5 separate regions of the Homo sapiens genome follow, and all the other regions are linked to region 5. The links are contacts of gene promoters, found by promoter capture Hi-C in blood cells and fetal thymus (Javierre and others, 2016). All regions are on one chromosome and are shown on one strand. Each heading gives the region's core, a stretch centred on a gene start or on the middle of the fragment in contact. The rest is flanking DNA. Distances are from core to core; before and after follow the strand shown.

Region 1 (2,700 bases), core at 108-2,607, 240 kb after region 5:
GAGTGGGGGGCGGGGGCGGGGGCGCCCCCGCCCACCCGATGGCTCCGCCCTCGTCGTCCCGCGTGGCCCCGCCCCGCCGCACCTGCACCTGCACAGCCCGCGTGGCCCCGCCCCGCCGCACCTGCATCTGCACAGCCCGCGTGGGCCCGCCCCGCCGCAGCTGAAGTGCACCACCATGGGCCCGGCCCGCGGCTTGCTGCTCTGGGCCCGGTTCACCTCGTCCCGGAAGCCGAGGACGCCGGCGGGATCGGCCCGGACGCCGTAGTCCGGCCAGCCGAAGTACTGGAAGTGCTGCACCGTACGCTGTGGCTCCTCCTGAGCGGGGCAAGCGGTGAGTGTGACCCCAGGGTGGGAGGAGGAGGCTGAGGCACAGCTGGGTTTCCGGGAGTGCCCAAGCGGAGGGGCTGCGGGAGCCAAGGCGAGCAGGAGGAGGAGGAAGGAAATGGGGAGGGGGCGCCGAGATGGCCCCAGGTGGCTCAGGTGCCTGGGGAAGGGAAGAGGGAGCTGGGGGCGGGCGAAGCAGGCTGTGAGGACAGTTATTTTATAAGGAAAAACCAAATGTGAGGGGTCCATGGGGTCCTGGAGGACCCCCCCACACACACTGGGCGGGGGCTGGAGGGAACACGAGGTAATCTGCCCGGAGCAGAAATGGGCGTCTCTGGTATACAACGGAGACCAAAGCTGCAGTTGGAGAGGTGTGTGGGAGGAGCGGCCGCCAGCCCAGGGCTGAGAATGTGGCCACGTCAGTGACCCCTGTCCAGGCTTGGAATGCACCTCCTGGGTTGAGGGGTGTGGAAGCCCCCAAAGGCAGTGGGGTTGGATGCAGGCAGGTGTGGGGTCTCCCAGTGCAGGCCGACAGCAGGCACGCTCCACAGCCGCCAGGCTCACCTGGCCCGGCCGCCACACCTGCAGCTCCCGCACGCAGTAGCCCTGGGCCTGGCCCTTGCCGAGGACGCGCATGTGCACACGGCCGAACTCTTGGCTGCCGGGCAGCTCTGGCCAGTCCCGGAAACACTTGTTCCGAGGGGAGCGCTTTGCATCAGCCTTGCTGGCAGCACCTCGGCACCCCGCCCCTGCGACCTGCAGAGACGCAGGTGTGTACGTGCAGCCACGGGGCTCTGTGGGAGCCTCCCCACTCCCACGGCGTCCCACAGCCTCCTTGGCCTGGTCGGGAAGGGCCTTGGGCAGCCGAAGATGCACGGGGTGGGATGGGCACTGGGAGCACTGGCACCGCACCCCTACCCGGCCCCGCTCCATCTCCCTGGTGGTCATGACGATGACACGCGTGTTCTCCTGGTGCACCGTGGCCCAGAAAGCAGCCACCGTGGCCTGCAGACAGGCCTGCAGACAGCCCTGCAGGCGATGTACACCCTGCGCCCGCGAGGCCCTGCCCCGCGGGGAGGAGCCACAGCGTACGGTGCAGCACTTCCAGTACTTCGGCTGGCCGGACTACGGCGTCCGGACCGATCCCGCCGGCGTCCTCGGCTTCCGGGACGAGGTGAACCGGGCCCAGAGCCGCGAGCCGCGAGCCGCGGGCCGGGCCCATGGTGGTGCACTTCAGCTGCGGCGGGGCGGGCCCACGCGGGCTGTGCAGGTGCAGGTGCGGCGGGGCAGGGCCACAAGGGATGTCCACCCTGCCCCTGCCATGGCCCGGCTCCTCCTCAGGGTCAGTCTGAAAGGGAATGAGGCCAACTGCTGCTGTTAACAGAGGACAAACAAGTCCATGCAAATGCTATGCAAATGATATGCAAACGACACACAAATATTATGCAAAGAGCCCTGGTGGCTTAAACACACTCCTCACTCCAGGCCAGCAAGGGGCTGAGGACCAATGCCCGTCCAGCCTCTCTGAGGACCCCTTGGAGACTGCCGCCCACCCCTCCCTTGGGGACCCTGGTTCTTCCTGAGCCCCCCAGGAGCAATGGGCCCAGGCCCCGCCTCCCGCACACACCCACCCTGATGTAGTCGGCTCCGGGCCCGCTGTCATCCTCGTTGAGCAGGATGACTCAAGGGTAGCATCAACTGGGAAGGGAGGTGCCGCTCAGTTCTCCAGGGCACAGCTCGTGGGCCTCACCCTGCCTCTTTGCCCGCAGACCCTGTGGTGAGCAGAGATGGAGGGTCCAGGGTATGCAAGGGGGAGCCTCAGGTCAGCGGTGGCAGATGCTCGGCCTGCCCCCCACCTCCCCCAGGCCCGACGGGTGACGCCCTGGCCTCCGCCCTCACAGGGAAGGATGTTCTTGTAGTGATTCTTGGGCTTGTTCTCCACACTCTGCCCCTCCTTCCGAGGGTACAGGAACCGGCATTCCTGCTGCTGCAGCATCTGGAGGTGATGGAGCCTTCAGCTCACAGCCCCGGCCCCTTCCCAGAGCCCGAGATGGCCACCCCCAGCCCGTCCCGTGTGGGCGGAAGAGTACCTAGGTGCCGAGGCAAGAGACTGAAGGCACAAACTGTTTCAGTATAATAAAGAAAATAGAATAAGAATAGTCATAATACAAATTAGATACAGCGATGATCATGAACAATTATCCATCATTATTATAAACATTATTAATCATTAGCTTTTAATATTACTCTGTTGCATTAATAATATAACCTAGGAATAACCGGCAGGTATAGGGTCAGGTGCTGAAGGGACATTGTGAGAAGTGAATAGAAGGCAAGAGGGGAGCCTTCTGTCATGCCCGCATAAGGGCCGCTTGA
Region 2 (2,700 bases), core at 164-2,663, 180 kb after region 5:
AGTCCCCAGGCTCGGTATTTTGTTCCAGCAGCTGGAGCTAGGACAACCCCAGACGCACCCGGCCAGCCCTGAGGGAGGGCGTTCACCGGCTTCCCATACGCATTGTAGGAGGCCGCATGGGCACCCTCCTCAGCCCTGGGCACCCTTGTCGTACCTGACAACCCTGTGTAGATTCCCTGCAAGCATCCAGGGTCCAAGGCGGCCGCAGGCTCCTCAGACAAAGGGCTTCCTCCACACATGGGCTCAGGGCTACGGGCTCCCTGACATCGACCTCCCCGGCAGCCGCCCTGGTGTTTCTCCCATTTGCCAGCGGACACATCCCAGGTGACACCCCACCTCGGAAGAGGCCCTCCTGGCAGGTGCCTGGCCCCAATGCCCAACGCAGGGCTCGCGGCGGCGATGGCGGCGGGTCTCAGGCAGGAGTGGGATCTCTCTGCTGTCCGGTCCTGCCCCTTGCCCCTGAGAGGCCCCACAACCCCACCCCCAGCACACCCTGCATGGGCACCCCCGTCTCAGGCTCTGCCTCCCGTGCCCTGACCCTGGGCGCAGAGGGCCACGTGCCTGTGACTCCGCTTCCCTGGCGGTGAGGGGTCCGGCCTTGTGTCCCATGACTCGGGCTCTGCTCCCTGACGACCTCGCTGGGGCTGCCCCCACCCTTCCGTGGAGTCCTTTGCGACGGTTTCTAAGGGCTCAGAGTGCAGCATTGATTTCAACCATGTGTCTCTGTCATTAAAATAGTCCCCTGACTTTGCCTGTGGAATGTTTTGCTCTCTTCCCATTTTAAGTTAAATGTGGTCAGTGTGACGGAAGGAAATGCGGGTTTTTCTCCAGACCGTCTTGTGCAAGGAGAAGAAGCCTTGAAAAGAAGAGGCACAAACTATCAGGAACGTCCTCGAAGAGATGAGCGAAAGCACGTGGCCACAGAAAACCATGAGGATGCAACAGAAAGAACGACTCCGAGGGGCCGGGCGTGGCGGCTCACGCCTGTCATCCCAGCACTATGGGAGGCCGAGGCGGGCGGATCATGAGGTCAGGAGATCGAGACCATCCTGGCCGACACGGTGAAACCCCGTCTCTACTAAAAATACAAAAAATTAGCCAGGCATGGTGGTGGGCACCTGTAGTCCCAGCTACTCGGGAGGCTGAGGCAGGAGAATGGCGTGAACCAGGAGGCGGAGCTTGCAGTGAGCCGAGATCACATCACTGCACTCCAGCCTGGGCGACAGAGCGAGACTCCGTCTTAAAAAGAATGACTCCGAGGACAGAAACGAAAAGCGCTGGAAGGGACGGAGCCAGGACGTTCCCCGAACGTGACGTGAAAAGGCAAAGAAAATGGGATAGAAAAGGTGATTAGAGGACCTGCTCCAAATTGCAGCAATATTCACCAGAGAAAGAGAGAGCAACAACAAAAAGAAAAGATAAAGAACAAAATCATTTAAAAATTGTAATTCAAGAACATTTCCTGGAGCCGAAGCTCAGGCATTTCCAGACAGAAAGAGCCACTGAGGACCCCGTGAAAGGGATGAAAACGGAACCACACAAAGATCCACCTTCACAGGACAGCAGAGATGGAGACAAAAAGAAGGCCCCAAAAACTTTCAGGAAAAAACCCGCAGAAACAGGTTCCATACCAAGGCCCCGGGGTTGGGATGCCATTGCCGGACCCACAGCAGCCTCGGGAGCCGGGGACCCTGCGGCGAGGTTTTCTCAACTCGCAGGGAAGCGAAGGCCTTGGTGGGGGCCCGCCCTGTGCCCTTCACAGGCAGCTGCAGCTGTGGGCGTGGTGGGGGCCCACCCCCTGCACCTCACGGGGAGCTGCGAGGGGCTTGTTCCACCAAAACACTGAGAAGACAAGAAAGGGGAGGTGTGGGGCCCGGGAAAATCCCACCCAGGGGAGAAGCAATGGGACCTTTGTGACACGGACCACGAAGCCTGCAAGACGCCAGCCCTGCCCCAGGCCCGAGGGAGCCGACCAGCCCCGGGCAGGGCAGGAGGCTCCCGGAGGCCCCTCAGAAATACCTGGCGTGCCGGAATTTAAGTCATGGGGGAGAGTCTGAGGCTGAATTAGTAATGAGTTCAGAGAAAGCTAAGCAAGAAGAAAAGCAAAGGCGATTATTAACTTCAGGGAAACAGCTCAGAGTTCGGGTGAGAACAGGCGGCCACGGTGGACCTGGCACCAAGCTAGTCCCCGGCGCCCAGCAGAGTGACAGCAGAGACCAGGCGCGGCGCGTGACGGCGGGACGAGAGGTGGGAGGGCGGCAAACAGCCCCTTCCACAGGGCAGATTCAGGGCTGACCCTGAAGCTGGAGTGCTGAGAAGCTGCCGTTTGCCAGTGACGTTGGAAGTAAACACAGGAGCCTCCCAGCACACGGAGCTGGTGGCCTCGGCGCGGCCTGAAGATCATATGTGTCCAAGCCTTGCAGAAGTGTTTGACTCTCAAGCAACCTACAGGCATAACTGGTTTTTTTTTTTTTTTTTTTTTTTTTTTTTTGAGACAGAGTCTCACTCTGTTGCCCAGGCTGGAGGGCAATGGTGCCATCTGAGCTCACTGCAACCTCCGCCTTCCAGGTGCAAGCGATTGTCCTGCCTCAGCCTCCAGAGTAGCTGGAATTATAGGTGCCCGCCACCACATCCAGCTAATTTTTTTGTATTTTTAGTAGAGACAGGGTTTCATCATGCTGACCACGCTTGTCTCGAACT
Region 3 (2,807 bases), core at 44-2,543, 160 kb after region 5:
CTGATGGGATGATAGAGCTGGGTCATGTGGAGAGCCTGGATCCCCAATGGGATGATAGAGCTGGGTCGTGTGGAGAACGCGGAACCCTGATGGGATGATAGAGCTGGGTCATATGGAGAGCCTGGGTCCCCGATGGGATGATAGAGCTGGGTCGTGTGGAGAGCCTGGATCCCTGACGGGATGATAGAACTGGGTCGTATGGAGAGCCTGGGTCCCCGGTGGGATGATAGAGCTGGGTCGTGTGGAGAGCCTGGATCCCCGATGGGATGATAGAGCTGGGTCGTGTGGAGAGCCTGGGTCCCTGAGAGGATGATAGAGCTGGGTCGTGTGGAGAGCGTGGATCCCTGATGGGATGATAGAACTGGGTCGTGTGGAGAGCCTGGGTCCCTGAGAGGATAATAGAGCCAGGTCATGTGGAGAGCGTGGATCCCCAATGGGATGATAGAGCTGGGTCGTGTGGAGAGCCTGGATCCCCAATGGGATGATAGAGCTGGGTCATGTGGAGAGCCTGAGTCCCTGAGAGGATGATAGAGCTGGGTCATGTGGAGAGCCTGGGTCCCTGAGAGGATGATAGAGCTGGGTCGTATGGAGAGCCTGGATCCCCGATGGGATGATAGAGCTGGGTCATGTGGAGAGCCTGGGTCCCTGAGAGGATGATAGAACTGGGTCGTGTGGAGAGCCTGGATCCCTGACGGGATGATAGAACTGGGTCGTGTGGAGAGCCTGGGTCCCCGATGGGATGATAGAGCCGGGTCATGTGGAGAGCATGGATCCCCAATGGGATGATAGAGCTGGGTCGTATGGAGAGCCTGGGTCCCTGAGAGGATGATAGAGCTGGGTCGTGTGGAAAGCCTGGATCCCCGATGGGATGATAGAGCTGGGTCATGTGGAGAGTCTGGATCCCTGATGGGATGATAGAGCTGGGTCATGTGGAGAGCCTGGGTCCCTGAGAGGATGATAGAGCTGGGTCGTGTGGAGAGCGTGGATCCCTGATGGGATGATAGAGCTGGGTTGTGTGGAGAGCCTGGATCCCCGATGGGATGATAGAGCTGGGTCGTGTGGAGAGCGTGGATCCCCGATGGGATGATAGAGCTGGGTTGTGTGGAGAGCCTGGAACCCGGACTCAATGGGGTGATGGGACACTGGGCTCTGGAACTTAGGACTCCATCCTCCTCTTCGCAAAACCCATAACCCCAGAGTATAATCATGAGAAAAACATCAGACAAACCCAAACTGAGGGACTCTCTACAAAACACCTGAGCAGCACTCCTCAAAACTGTCAAGGTTGCTAAACCAAGGAAAGTCTGAGAAGCTGTCACAGACCAAGGAGAGGTGACGAGGCCACGGGGCCTGGATGGGGTTCTGGGACGGAAAGGACAGGAGGGAAAAAGGCTGGCCAGCGTGTGGGGTTTAGCTGCTGGTCATCACTGGCTGCTGCGACAGACGGACCAGCTGACGTGCGGGTCTCACAGTGACGCCAGGTCTCTGTGATCTTTGAAACCCCTGTGCAACTTTTCTGTTGATCAGAAATTATTAGAAATAAAAAGTCTATTTAAATGTGTATTTAAAGTCCCACCAGTGACCTTTGTTGATGTCTTGCTGGTGGCAGAAGTGGCTGCTGTGAGCGGAGGCCCCGGGGGTAGCAGGAGACAGAGACGGAGGCCCCAGGGGCAGCAGGAGACAGAGGCAGAGGGGAGCGGGGCAGCCCCAGGCTGGGCAGAGCAGGAAGGGGCGTGGAGCCTCCGAGTCCTGGAGAGCCGAGGCCACAGAACGGACCGTGGCTGCCCCTCCTCGCACTCCACGCTCCCCCTGGGTGGGGCCGTTCTGGGTTTGGTGCCTTGAGCTCACCCTGAGGCTCTGGCTGGGCCCGAGCATTCTTGAGAGCCTGGCCTGGGCTTGGCAGTGCCACCGTCACCTCCACGTGTTGTCTGCTGGGGTTGCCGCCTCGACTCCGGGGAACTCGCCAGGGGTCCTGCCCCAAGAGACTGTGGGGAGGGGACCCTGGAGGCAAACCCTGTCTGGGACACGGAGGCCGGCCGTGCGGGAGGCAGGCGGCACTCCTGCTGGGTGGGGGGCCCGGGACAGGTGAACTGCGGAAGGGGCCTGGAGCCCGAGATCTGGGTGCCGGAGAAGGCCGTTGAGCGGTGAGGACCCCGGGCTTCTCAGACATCCTGAGCTGCGCAGGAAGGGCCCCCAGGTGGCTCCTCGGAACAGACGGGCAGGGCCCACCCCAGGGGCTGCTGACCTGGTTCTTAAACACACCGTGAGTCCTGAGGTTCTGGACCAGAGATGCCTCCAGACCAAGCCCTTAGGACCAAACTCGGGGAGCCTCAAGGGACGGTCGGTGACCCTCAGCACCATGGGCCCTGGGTAACTGCTCCCCAGCCAGTGTTCCCAGGGCTCGGCCGGGTCCCAGAAGGTGAGGGCACCTGGCGGAAACAGAACCTAGGGCTGCAGGCTTCACGACGCCTGGGAGGGAGCAGGCATGGAAATCCCAGCCCGCAGAACCAAAGCAGCCATGGAAATGTCTCAGGCAAATCACCCGGCAGCAGCCCCACCGGGCACGCAGGCCCTAGACGCAGCCCTGCTGCTCGCCAGGACCCCTCCCGGCCCCTCACCTCTGCTCCCCGGCACCCCCTCCCAGGCTCCTAGAGGCCCAGAGGGAATCTGGGGACTTGGGGCCTGAGAGAGGGATGAGGGCGGCTGCCCCAGGGTCCCCAGGGAGTCCGAGGCTGCCCTCAGGTCCGGTGGGTGACAGGACACCCGGGGTCAGAGCTGTTCCAGGGCGGCCACTTTTTGTCTTTGGG
Region 4 (2,700 bases), core at 146-2,645, 210 kb after region 5:
AGTGAAGAAAAGGGAAATGCACGCATAATGAACAAAGTGCCGGAAATCTCAGCGAGGAAACATGTTTAAATGAGCCAAATGGGAATTTTAGGTCAAACAAACACAAGATCTGGCTGGGCGTGGTGGCTCACGCCTGTAATCCCAGCACTTTGGGAGGCTGAGGTAGGTGGATCACCTGCGGTCAGGAGTTCAAGACAAGCCTGACCAACATGGTGAAACCCCGTCTCTACTAAAAATACAAACAGCAACAACAAAAATTTAGCAGGGCTTGGTGGTGGTCGCCTGTAATCCCAGCTACTCGGGAGGCTGAGGCAAAGAATCACTTGAGCCCAGGAGGCAGAGGCTGCAGTGAGCCCAGATCATGCCACTGCACTCCAGCCTGGGGCTGGGGGACAAGAGTGAAACTCTTGTCTCAAAAAAAAACAAGATCTGAAATTTTATTTTATTTATTTATTTTTGAGACAGTTCTACTCTGTCACCCAGGCTGGAGTTCAGTGGCACGATCTCGTCTCACTGCAACTTCTGCCTCCCAGGTTCAAGTGATTCTCCTGCCTCAGCCTCCTGAGTAGCTGGGACTACAGGTGCCCACCACTACGCCTGGCAATTTTTTTTTTTTTTTTTTTTTTTTTTTTTTTTTTTAGTAGAGACAGGGTTTCGCTATGTTGGCCAGGCTTGTCTTGAACTGACCTCAGGTGATCCACCTACCTCAGCCTCTCAAGGTGCTGGGATTACAGGCGTGAGCCACTGTGCTTGGCCAAGATCTGAAATTTTAAAATTCACTGAATGAACATAACAGAAGGGAAATAACAGAGAAAATAGGCAGAGTCCTCAAAGACAGAGGAATAGAAATCATCCAAGCTGGAAAAAAAAAAAAGGGTGGAAGTGATTGGAGGAAAATAAAACAAAACCATGAACAGAGCCTCTGGGACCTGTAGGTGATATCTAAGCCTCAGGGACCTTAGGTGATATCAACATGTCTAACACATGGGTAATTACAGAGGTCCAGGAGAGGAGAGGCACAGTGGACAGAAGTACTTGAAGAAACAGTAACCAGAAACTTTCAAATTTGGTGAAAGACATAAATGTTTAGTTTTAAGAATCCCAAACAGGATAAATGAGAATAAAACCACACCTGGACCCATCACTTCAAAAGTTTGTTTTTTTTTTTTTTTTTTTTTTTTTGAGACAGAGTTTTGCTGTTGTCGCCCAGGCTGGAGTGCAGTGGTGCGATCTCGGCTCACTGCAACCTCTACCTCCCAGTTCAAGCGATTCTCCTGCCTCAGCCTCCCATGTAGCTGGGACTATATGCCCGTGCCACCATGCCCGATTAATTTTTGTATTTTTAGTAGATACGGGGTTTCTCCATGTTGGCCAGGCTAGTCTCGAACTCCTGACCTCAGGGGATCTGCCTGCCTCAGCTTCCTAAAGTGCTGGGATTACAGGTGTAAGCCACCACACCCAGCCCTAAAACTATTAAAAACTAAAGATTAACTTTAAAAATCTTGAAAGCAGCCAGAGAAAAACAACAGATCACACACAGCACAGCACTGTGAAGACTGAGCTGATAAACCATGAGCCAATAGACCGTGAGCCGACAGACTGTGAGCTGATTGATAGACCATGAGCCGACGGACCCTGAGCCAATAGACTGAGCTGATTGATAGATGTGAGCCAATGGACCCTGAGCCGATAGACCATGAGCTGACAGACCCTGAGCTGATAGACCATGAGCTGATAGACTGAGTCTGTGAGATTTAAAAAAAAATTTTTTTTTATACAGTCTTGCTCTGTTACCAAGGCTGGAGTGCAGTGGTACAGTCTCAGCTTACTGCAACCTCTGCCTCCTGGGTTCAAGCGATTCTTGTGTCTCAGCCTCCCAAGTAGCTGGGACTACAAGCGTGTGCTACCATGCTGAGCTAATTTTTGTATTTTTAGTAGAGATGGGGTTTTGCTATGTTGGCCAGGGTGGCATCAAACTCCTGGCCTCAAGTGACCCACCCACTTGGCCTCCCAAAGTGCTGGGATTACAGGCGTGAGCTGCCACGCCCGACCAAGTTTGTGAGTAATTATGGAGACCAGAAGAAAGTGGAACTGCTGAAAGAAAAAAAAAGCATAGAATTCTGTATTCTCTAAGAATAAACATTACATGAAAATATTTTCAGAAAAAGGAAAACTGATAAAATTTGTCACCATCAAATTGTGCTACCGGAAATGCTGAAGATAGTATATACTACAGTGAAACTCAGATCTTTAAGAATGAATGATGAACATCAAAATTAGTAAATATCTGGGGAAAAATTAAAACATCTCTTGGGTTTATAATGTATGCAGATATGACAGCCACAACGTGAAGAGTAGTAGAGGGGATCCGTGGACTGTACAGTTGCAAGGTGTCTACATGTCTACATTTTGCATAAAGTGGTATAATGCTAGTTCTAAGTAGACTAGAAAAAGCAAGGTTGAAATTGCAATTCCTAGAGCAACAACTATGAGAATAATGGAAAGAAGCACAACTAAAGGGCCAAAAGATAACTTGGAAAGGAATTTTTAAAACTTCAAATCACGCAAAAGAGGGCCAGAAAGAGAATAGAGGAACAAAAAACACAGGGACAATCAGAAAACAAATAATAAACGGTAAAAACGGTAGACCTGAAATCCAACGATAGTGTCATTATACACTTGCCAAAGCTCAGCACCAAG
Region 5 (2,733 bases), core at 24-2,523:
TGAGCGGCGCTGGACGTCCAGGTGCGCCGCGTTGCTCAGGGCGTGGACCCCGGCGTCCGTGCGGCTGGAGATGGTGAACCTGACCGGCTCCACGGAATTCAGCCGCTCGGCGGCCTCCTGCAGGACCGAGCCGCGGGGCGGGCGGGTGAGCGAGGCCGGACCCCGGGGACGCGCGGGCGGGAGCCTCCCCCTTACCCCTCACCGGGCGTCCCGTGACCGGCTGAGCGCACCTCCAGGTAGTTCTGGACCCCGACGGCGCGCTGAGTGCCCCTGACGGCCGCGACCCCGCTGCGGGCAGAAGCGGGCGGAGGTTACCGGGGGCGCCCTGCCCTGGGGTCTCCGCCGCCGTCTGAGGCCAGGGCCGCTTCCTTCCCCGAACGTTTGGAACCCGCGTCCAGAGACATCCGCCTGCCCGCCCGCGCCCTCCTTCCCGCCTCCGCCCGGGCCCACGTGGCGCCCGCCGCTGCGCCTGGGAAACCTACTTAAAGTCGGTGCCCACGTACTGGAAGTACACAAGATAGCGCGCGCGCACGGAGCCTGAGGCCGGCGCCGAACTCATGGCGGAGCCCAGCCGGTGGCGTCAGAGGCGGCCTCCAGCGCAGGAATCCTGCGCGCGCGCGGACGCGGCCTGGTCACGCCCCCCCCCCCTCCCCCCCGGCCCCGGCCGCTCTTGCGCCTGCGCGGTGGCACCGCGCCACGGCGGCCAGAGTCGGGGAGCGGAGGCGGGGCCGGGCTTAGGGAGCGGCTGCAAAGTGCCGGCCCGCCGCCGAGCGCAGGCGCTCTACCTCTATCGCGGCGCCCCGGGAGGCGCGCACCAACCACGCGGTCACCCCGCGCTCTCGCGGGCGTGCATTCGTTCACTCGCTCATTCATTCGCCGCCGCCCACACTCCCCGAGCGCGCCCGTTCGCCGCGTTGCGGCCAAGTCCTCCCAGACGTGGTTTTTGCAAACGCCCTGAGTTGCGCAACGGCCGGGATGGTTGGAGCGGGCGGGCCCGCGCCCTCCCCGCGCCCTCCCCGCGCCCCACATTTCCACCGACTGTCCCCGGAGACGGCCGTGGCAGGCCCCGCCTCACTTCCGGACCGGGGTGGTCCCTGGACGCTGCGAGAGGCGTTTGGCGACGCTCCCCGGCGGTGACAGCGGGCGGCGCGCGCGGGCGGCGGACCTTGGCGACGCTCCCCGGCAGTGACAGCGGGCGGTGCGCGCGGGCGGCTGACTTTGGCGACGCTCCCCGGCGGTGACAGGCGGGGCGGGGCGCGGCGCGGCGGCCTCATTCCGGGGCGGGCGGGCGCCGAGGCGGCGCGGGCGGGACGAGCGGTCCGGGCCGGCGCGGCTGCCGCTCGGCGCCGCGGTCCTCGTGCCAGTGAGCGCCGCGGCCGCCGCAGCCATGACCGTGGAGTTCGAGGAGTGCGTCAAGGACTCCCCGCGCTTCAGGTGCGCCGCCCGGGGCCGCCGGGGTGGGCGCAGGCCGGGGGCGTCGCTGTCGCCTTTGTGCCCGGCGGCGGGGTGGGGAGGTCAGCGCCGGGCCGGGCCGCGGCCGCCGGGGAGGGGCTGGAGGACCGGCCTCGGACAAAGCGGCGGCCCCGCCCCGCCATGCCCCGGGGGTTGGAACAAAAGACGCTCCTGCCCTGTGCGGCCGCCCCGGGTGGAGGGCGTGCGCGTGGGCAGCCGTGGGCACCTCGGGACCGTCCGCCCCCGCTCTGTGTCTGCACCTCCACTGGGCTGAGCCCCTCCCGGGCCCTGCAGTCCAGCTCTGGCCAGGGTCGTCTGGGTCCGTGGGGGCGTCGGCCCCTGGTCTCTGACTTGATCCTGTGTCCAGAGCAGCGCGTGGGGAACAGGCAGCTGGAGCCGCGTTTAAGGCCTGGGGTAGGGTGCTTGGAAACGTGAAGTGGTTTGAATGACCCAGGGGCTTGGAGGGGTGGCGGCCGAGAAGAGCGGCGGGGAAGGTCAGGTAGGGGGTAGGGGTTGTGTGCACACCGAGTCTGCATGTTTTCCATCATTCGTGGCGTGCAGGCGTGTACACCTGCGTGAACTACATGTTCACAGACGTGTGCACAAGTGTGCATCGGCTTTGCTTGGTGGACATTTGGCAAACGACAATGGAGGCAAAGAAACCTCTCTGCATCCCCAAGTGCGCACCTGCGTGAGGCCCCCTCCTCTGCACGAGCTCGTGCGGGGTGCGCTCTTGTGAACTTTGCCCCTCTGCGTGCCTCCCTCCGGACACCAGGCCTTGCACAGGACGTGTGGATGAGCTGTGCCACGGGGCTGTGCTTGCTTCTGCATGTAGCCTGCCGATGAGTGCACGCAAGCGTGTGCACACACCACCTGTCTGTGTGGGTTCACGTACTGTGTTAGCCATGTCAGCAATAGACACATCACCTTGTACACGCGTGTTCCATCACTAGGTACACATGTTGATGCGTGTCTGTGCAGTGTCTCCTTGAACACACATGTATGTGTGGTACCAGTGTGTGCAGGCATGTTTGTGCATGAACATGTTTGCACATGTGTGCTTGATTGTGTATGTGTGGGTGTGCACGCGCGCGCTGGGTCTCTTGGGATCTGCTGGCAAGTCAGCATGTGTGTGGAGGCACGGGGAGCCTCTGTATCCCTGGAGCCCTCACCAGGAGGCTCAGGAGCCTTGGAGTGGGAGGCTCAGGGCCAGCCAGGAGAGTGGCCGCCAGCCCTGGGCAGAGGAACTGGGGCCATCCTCTGCTCTCCCATCTTCTGTTG

What was found. Contacts are between HindIII fragments. The CHiCAGO score rates a contact against its expected background, and 5 or more counts as called.
Region 1: a contact is called between a fragment that was not itself captured here and the fragment with the promoter of ACAP3 in region 5, in 7 of 17 cell types (M0 macrophages, naive CD4 T cells, activated CD4 T cells and 4 more). The highest score is 10.2, in M0 macrophages.
Region 2: a contact is called between a fragment that was not itself captured here and the fragment with the promoter of ACAP3 in region 5, in 11 of 17 cell types (naive CD4 T cells, activated CD4 T cells, total CD4 T cells and 8 more). The highest score is 16.4, in naive CD4 T cells.
Region 3: a contact is called between a fragment that was not itself captured here and the fragment with the promoter of ACAP3 in region 5, in 10 of 17 cell types (naive CD4 T cells, total CD4 T cells, total CD8 T cells and 7 more). The highest score is 9.3, in naive CD4 T cells.
Region 4: a contact is called between a fragment that was not itself captured here and the fragment with the promoter of ACAP3 in region 5, in 6 of 17 cell types (naive CD4 T cells, naive CD8 T cells, total CD8 T cells and 3 more). The highest score is 9.6, in naive CD4 T cells.

Annotation. Positions count from the first base shown.
Region 1 is chr1:1,066,192-1,068,891 of GRCh38, reverse strand. LOC100288175 (a long non-coding RNA gene) reads right to left here. Exons shown (of 4, transcript NR_148960.1): 4 at 2,439-2,700. It overlaps LOC105378948 (a long non-coding RNA gene), which reads left to right. Exons shown (of 5, transcript NR_168433.1): 1 at 1-331; 2 at 852-1,094; 3 at 2,094-2,146; 4 at 2,294-2,426. Among named protein-coding and RNA genes, the nearest start is that of RNF223, 6.8 kb to the left of the region's middle. RefSeq lists a silencer at 1-178. The HindIII fragment of the contact is 4,423 bases long and covers 1-2,700 here.
Region 2 is chr1:1,129,978-1,132,677 of GRCh38, reverse strand. The region is part of intron 1 of LOC124903820 (a long non-coding RNA gene); the gene reads right to left. Among named protein-coding and RNA genes, the nearest start is that of LINC01342, 5.7 kb to the left of the region's middle. The HindIII fragment of the contact is 4,801 bases long and covers 1-2,700 here.
Region 3 is chr1:1,150,703-1,153,509 of GRCh38, reverse strand. All of the region lies in intron 1 of LOC124903820 (a long non-coding RNA gene), which reads right to left. Among named protein-coding and RNA genes, the nearest start is that of MIR200BHG, 11 kb to the left of the region's middle. The HindIII fragment of the contact is 7,276 bases long and covers 1-2,807 here.
Region 4 is chr1:1,100,554-1,103,253 of GRCh38, reverse strand. The region is part of intron 1 of C1orf159 (chromosome 1 open reading frame 159); the gene reads left to right. Among named protein-coding and RNA genes, the nearest start is that of C1orf159, 14 kb to the left of the region's middle. The HindIII fragment of the contact is 5,940 bases long and covers 1-2,700 here.
Region 5 is chr1:1,306,470-1,309,202 of GRCh38, reverse strand. It overlaps ACAP3 (ArfGAP with coiled-coil, ankyrin repeat and PH domains 3), which reads left to right and starts at 1,273. Exons shown (of 24, transcript NM_030649.3): 1 at 1,273-1,434. The coding sequence starts at 1,388. It overlaps PUSL1 (pseudouridine synthase like 1), which reads right to left and starts at 606. Exons shown (of 8, transcript NM_153339.3): 1 at 483-606; 2 at 231-288; 3 at 1-117. The coding sequence starts at 559. RefSeq lists silencers at 1-94, 105-244, 275-344, 565-1,244, 1,285-1,454 and 1 more. The HindIII fragment of the contact is 38,674 bases long and covers 1-2,733 here.